2 separate regions of the Homo sapiens genome follow, and region 2 is linked to region 1. Evidence: promoter capture Hi-C in 16 types of primary human blood cells and fetal thymus (Javierre and others, 2016). All regions are on one chromosome and are shown on one strand. Each heading gives the region's core, a stretch centred on a gene start or on the middle of the fragment in contact. The rest is flanking DNA. Distances are from core to core; before and after follow the strand shown.

The links. The method cuts DNA at HindIII sites, captures the fragments that hold promoters and counts their contacts. A CHiCAGO score of 5 or more calls a contact.
Region 2: a fragment that was not itself captured here is called in contact with the fragment with the promoter of CCDC17 in region 1 in 2 of 17 cell types (M1 macrophages and endothelial precursors); the score reaches 8.0 in M1 macrophages.

The regions. Positions count from the first base shown.
Region 1 is chr1:45,622,543-45,625,671 of GRCh38, forward strand. CCDC17 (coiled-coil domain containing 17) reads right to left here and starts at 1,512. Exons shown (of 13, transcript NM_001114938.3): 1 at 1,194-1,512; 2 at 1,015-1,110; 3 at 675-897; 4 at 413-575; 5 at 209-292; 6 at 7-125. The coding sequence starts at 1,367. The HindIII fragment of the contact is 6,664 bases long and covers 614-3,129 here.
Region 2 is chr1:45,956,323-45,959,451 of GRCh38, forward strand. MAST2 (microtubule associated serine/threonine kinase 2) reads left to right here. Exons shown (of 29, transcript NM_015112.3): 5 at 3,064-3,129. Among named protein-coding and RNA genes, the nearest start is that of MAST2, 150 kb to the left of the region's middle. The HindIII fragment of the contact is 160 bases long and covers 1,563-1,722 here.

The DNA.
Region 1 (3,129 bases), core at 262-2,761:
GTTCACCTCTGCGGGTCTGCGACCGCTGCAGCTCCAGTGCAGACGCCTCCACCTGCAACTGCCATATCTGGCCCAGCACGCCGGGGTCCCGGCCCCCGTCTCGAATGTAGGCCTCCCGCAGCGCCCTAGGGAGTGGGGAACAGGAAGGCCGTCTTTCCAGAACTGCTCAGCGCTTCGCCCTATGCCCATCTCCGGCCCCGGCTCTCACCGGATTTCGGCAGCCAGAGTTCCCGGGTTGGCCTTTTGCACTGGAGAATAAAGTTCTGCCTCTCGCCGGGAGCTCAGCGGGTTCCTGGGGTGGCAGGCGACGCGCAGGGAGACGGTAACGCATCAGAGGCCCCGGGGCTGCAGCCAGCCCGCCCCTCCCACCCCGGAGCCGCATGTTCCGGGGATCCGCTTAGTCGGGTCTCACCCTGGCTCCGCCTGCAGCTCCTGAATGCGGGCCCCCAACACCTCTAGAGCTCCCCGCGTCCTCCCGGCCTCAGCTTGTAGTTCTCGAATCTCCTGCTCCAGGCCGAAGAGGCGGGACATCCCGCCCCGCGTACAGGCCACAACTTGGAGGCGTCGGCTCAGTTCTGAGGGAATGCGGGCCGAGTCAGAACCGGCCCGAGCAAGCTTAAGCCAAACGGCGAGGGCAGAGGAGGTCCTTGGTCCCCGTCCCCCATCTCCTTCACCCTCGCCGCGTAGCTGCAGGGCCCGGCTCTGCGCTTCCATCTCCGCCACGCGCCTCGCGCGAGTCCTGAACAGCGCCCGCAGCCGCTCGCTGGGGCTTCCCACCGCCTCGGACATGGGACTCTGAGGCCGCGCCTCGGAACGTGTCCAGGGCCCCGCGAACACCCTGGGGACCTCTGTTATCCAGGGCCGCATTTCCTGTAGGGATAGCCGCAGCCACTGCACCTGGAGGTAACAGCGATCCGCGATCTCTGCGTGGGCAGAATCTGTCCCAAGTATGATCTACAGGTTTGGGGAAGACGCTCAACGTTTTGAGCCCTGGGGGAAGGTAGGTAGCTCTACCTCCTCTGTTAACCTCTTTAGAGCAGATCTACTGGCCTGCTGGTCTGGGAGGCCCTGGGGTTCTTGTGGCACGCCCTGGTGTTCTTGTGGCACAACCTGGGGATAGGGTGTAGTAGGATGAGGAATCATAAAGGTCCTGGCTCCTTTGAATCCCCACCCATGGCCATGGAGGCCCTTACCGCGGCCCGCTGGGGTTCAGTGGCAACTGATGCCTGTGCTCCAAATGTCATCTCTTGGGTCGGGTGGCCAATGCAGAAGCGCTGAGTATGGGTGGCTAACAGAGCTGAGGAGCGGAAAACCATGTCACAGGTCCCACAGGGCAGGAGCGCAGGCTCCCCAGAGTGGGAGTCCATGGGATGGGACCCGTTTCCTGAAACCAGCCAAGACCTGCAGAAGGGATCAAGGGCAGGGGAAAGGCAGAGGAGGATGAAAGAGACATAAAGCCAGAGGCAGAGAGGAAAGGCCGTGTCTATTAGGTCTGTGAGATCTTCAAGTTTGTTTGGGGAGAGCCTTAGCTCCCTGGACAGCAACCACAGGGCTGGGCAGGTCAGGAGAATGGGTGGGGAAACCTCGGCCGTTTGGGAGGAGCCACTGGCTTGAAAAAGTGTTACAAAGTCTGAACGTGGGCAAGTCTCTAATTGTAGCTTGGTTTCCCTGACTATTAATAAAGAGGAAAAAGCAGCTGCCTCCTAGACTAGGCTGGGCCCTTATCACTTACTACATCATTGGTCATTTAATAGCCTCTAAAAGGCAAGTGTCATCTTTTTCATTGCTGTACTCCCAAGTGGATGTAACAGTTTGTACCATTCTCCAATCCAGAGAACTACCTGGCAAAGGAGGCACTCTGACCTTTCCAGCATTCTGCCTGGAAACCATGTCGCACCAGGGATAGCAGTCTCCCTAACTCCCATTCCCTGATTCCTCATTTTTCAGCTGTAGACGAAGATAATCAGCACAGCCCAAGAAATGAAAGCTGTGGGCGAACAGAATGAATCTATCAGATGAGGGAATCAAGTCCAGAAAAAAACCCCTTCTCTCTCCCAAGATTGGCCAGAAGCCAGAAAGACCCTGAACTGTTGGTGAAATTCTTCACTCCACTCCCACTCCCAAAATATATGGAGGAGCTCTGAGGTGACCGCATATTTCTTAAGAAACCCTCTTTACTTTTTTTTTTTTCTTTTTGAGATGGAGTCTCGCTGTCGCCCAGGCCGAAGTGCAGTGGCGCGATCTCAGCTCACTGCAATGAGCTCTGCCTCCTGGGTTCACGCCATTCTCCTGCCTCAGCCTCCCAAGTAGCTGAGACTACAGGTGCCCACCACCACGCTTGGCTCATTTTTTGTATTTTTTAGTAGAGACGGGGTTTCACCATGTTAGCCAGGATGGTCTTGATCTCCTGACCTCGTGATCTGCCCGCCTTGGCCTCCCAAAGTGCTGGGATTACAGGCGTAAGGCACTGCGCCCGGCCAAGAAACACCCTTTTCTCTTCTTTTTTTGAGACAGTCTCGCTCTGTTGCCCAGGCTACAGTGCAATGGCACGATCTCGGCTCACTGCAAGCTCTGCCTCCCAGGTTGACACCATTCTCCTGCCTCAGCCTCCCCAGTAGCTGGGACTACAGGCACCTGCCACCACACCCGGCTTTTTTTTTTTTTTTTTTTTAGACGGAGTCTCGCTCTTTCGCCCAGGCCGAAGTGCAGTGGCACTATCTGGGCTCACTGCAAGCTCCGCCTTCCGGGTTCAAGCCATTCTCCTGCCTCAGCCTCCCGAGTAGCTGAGACTACAGGTGCCCACCACTGTGCCCGGCTAATTTTTTTTGTATTTTTAGTAGAGATGGGGTTTCACCGTGTCAGCCAGGATGGTCTTGATCTCCTGACCTTGTGATCCGCCCGCCTCGGCGTGCCAAAGTGCTGAGATTACAGGCGTGAGCCACTGCGCCCAGCCTTATGCCTGGCTAATTTTTTGTATTTTTAGTAGAGACGGGGTTTCACAGTGTTAGCCAGGATGGTCTCGATCTCCTGACCTCGTGATTCCCCCGCCTCGGCCTCCCAAAGTGCTGGGATTACAGGTGTGAGCCACCATGCCTGGCCGAAACTCCCTTTTCTAAACAAGACAGGGAC
Region 2 (3,129 bases), core at 393-2,892, 330 kb after region 1:
ATCTATGGCTCCTAAATGTTCCTCATATCACCAACCCTTACTGTGGGTGGTACAATGCCAGTATAATAAAGACAGCTATTCATGGAAATTTGTTCACTGCAATTGCCAATCAGCATGAGTCTGTCTTTGAAAGGATTATTTTTTCACAAAATCCAGCATTTCCCTGAATAAGTGGCTTCATCTTCCCTTGTTATGGTCTATGGAAGTCACAGAGAGAGCAACTACTGCTGTTACTGGAATTTCAGTCCATACTATGGTCAGTGTCCACAATTTCTGTCACAAAGTATGCAAGCATTACTTTGAACTACATCCGATACAGCTTAGTGGTTTAGGTCATTACTTGCAAATCAGTGAGTCCTGTTTTAGCCACGAAATCAAGTGTCACTATAGCCATGCTCTGGAGAGAGAAATAATGGGCTTTTGGTATGGTGGATACACCCATCAGCCAGCTATTGGTTATTTGGAAATTTTTGGTGACTGTTCTGCCCAAACCTTGCCACCTATTTTGCAGTGCCTAGTTGAGCACAGTTCATATCATCTCTTGGCATACATACCCAAAACATCTAGTGCTATTGAAATAAATGCAAAGCAAAGTGCAAGACCATGAGAGGAATTCGTCACAATGTGTTGGACTCGTATTTGGTCGAATTTATGTGGGATGATTGACTTGGAAATAATGTTTTCAATTCCCTTTTAGCGCATGTGTCAGAACAGTCTCCTGTTAAGTAACATTATGTTTGACTTTTGTTTTTAGTATATTTTAGTATAAATATCCAGGGACAAATTTTTTGATTGAATACACCTGAGAGGCAAATTGTTCAACTCATCCATGAAAGCATACAACATACTCTTTTTTGTCTGGCATCTTGCTTTCAGCATAATTATTTGTGAGATTCATCCATTGTGTGAATCAATTATTCATTCCTTGTTATTGCTGAGTAGAATTCCATTATATGGATATACTGTGATTTGTTTGTCACTCATCTGTTGGTGCATATTTTAGGTGGTTTGTAGTTTCGGGCTTTCACAAATAACAGCATATAAGTGGATCCTGCTATTTTATCCAGTCTGACAATCTCTGCCTTAACTGGCTGTGTACTTAGAACATTTATATTTAATATGATTATTGGTATGATTGGGTTTAAATATGTTATTTGTTTTCTAATTGGCCCAACTGTACGTGTTCTTCTTTTTCTGGCACAATCATTGGCTCACTGTAGCCATGAACCCCTGGAGTCAAGCAGTCCTCCTGCCTCAGTCACCCAAGTAGCTAGGACTGTAGGCATGTGCCAACATGCCCAGCTATTTTTTTTTAATTTTTATTTTCTGTACAGATTTGAGGAAGGAAAAGGGGTATTGGAGGTTTAAGGAGAAAATGTGAATTAGTTGTCTTGGAGAGTGAGCAAACACATTACTCTGGTAAATGTGCTAAGATTGTCAGGCAGTAATGAGGCCCCACTTGATGTTTGTCACTGTGAATATAAAGACACATCAGCCAGCATGATTCTGGGTTTTTCTTCAGTCACTCTAAGTTCCCAGGTGCAGTTGCAAAATAGATGGGAAGCTTGGTTGTAAAGGGTTGGGATTTCGCCAGGACTTTGGTGTCCTTGGGAGGTAGCAACGTTTCATTTGGAGCTAGAATTTAAAGCAGACACTCAGAAGAGAAATTGGGGATATAGGCAGTTTGCTGATGACATACTGAGTTCAAGGAGGCAAAGTATAAGCTTTTCTCAAAGGTTCAGAGTAGTGGGAGACTGTCAGGTTAGAGAGTGGAAGGCATTCCATGGTGACTGAGGTAGTTAGGGGTATGGGCATGATTGGATTCCTCCTGATGGTTTCTTAGGGGAAAATGGTTATCATTTCTAATGATAATCTCTTTCTTGAGATTGATCTCATTCCTTCCATCAGCCCTACAGAGTCTGGCTGTGGCCTTCCCCATAGCTTCTATAACCTACTTCTTTTTCTGTCATTCTCCCCTCCTGTCATCCACTCTTGACTTCTTTGCTATTTCTTGAACATCCCAAATTTGTTCTTGTCTCAGTGCCTTTACCTTTACTTTTCTCTCTGCCTCTCAGCTCTACTTTTGTCTGAGTCCTTCATATCATTCAGCTCTCTCATCAGACTTCACTTCCCTAGTTAGCACTCCCACACCAGTCTCTTATTTCCTTTCTCCTTTTCTCCCTCTCCCTCCCTCCCTCTCTCTCTCTCTCCCTCTATCCCCCTCTCCCCCTCTCCCTCTCTCTCCCTCTTTCTGTTCTTTCTTCCTCTTCCTTTTCCCACAGCACTGTTCACTCCAGTTATGAGGATAGAGACTGTTCTTTTGTTCCCTACTGCTTCCCTCCTAAGACACTGCCTAGTGTGTAGTAGGTGTTCAATAAATATTTGGATGAATATAAATGGCAAACTTCCCTAATGCCTTCAAAAGATAGACTGACTTTCAAATAAATTGATATAGACTTTTCAGTAATAGATGTTGCATGAAATGGCTTTTCATCACCATCTGGTTTTCTCCAACCAGAAGAAAAAGCTTCAGACATTAACATGTAGTGGAAAGCCCGTTTATAGAAGAAACCCAGGGCTGTTCTGACATTTATTCTGAAATGAGAATATTACTTAATTCACGGACTAAACGTTCTAAAAATAATAATTTCATAGATTAATAGTTTTGGGGGGTTCTTAGAGAATATGAGAATATTTTGACTTGTGCTTTTTATTTTGTAAATCAATTTGCAGTGGTCATTCTTCATTAGATACTGTTTAAAACATGGTTTTTGCCCGTAGGGAGCTCCTTGTGTTTGCTTGGGAAATAAAACTAAACATTGGAAAAGCACAGTGGCAATACAAGATGAAAGTCAAGGCAGTGAAAAAAGTTATTCCAAGGAGGAACACAGTGCTTTATGGAATCTAACTGGTGCCGAGTGTAATTGCTGACCCAGTTCAGTTTAAAGAAGTATACTGTGCGGCCCGTGGAATGGTGTCCCTCTTTAGTTCCTTAAAAACCACTCAAGGTCTCTGGGCCCATGGTGTGGCCCTATTATAATTCATATTTTGTTTTCATTGCAGTTGTCGGACAAGTAACCGCAAGAGCTTGATTGTGACCTCTAGCACATCACCTACACTACCACGGCC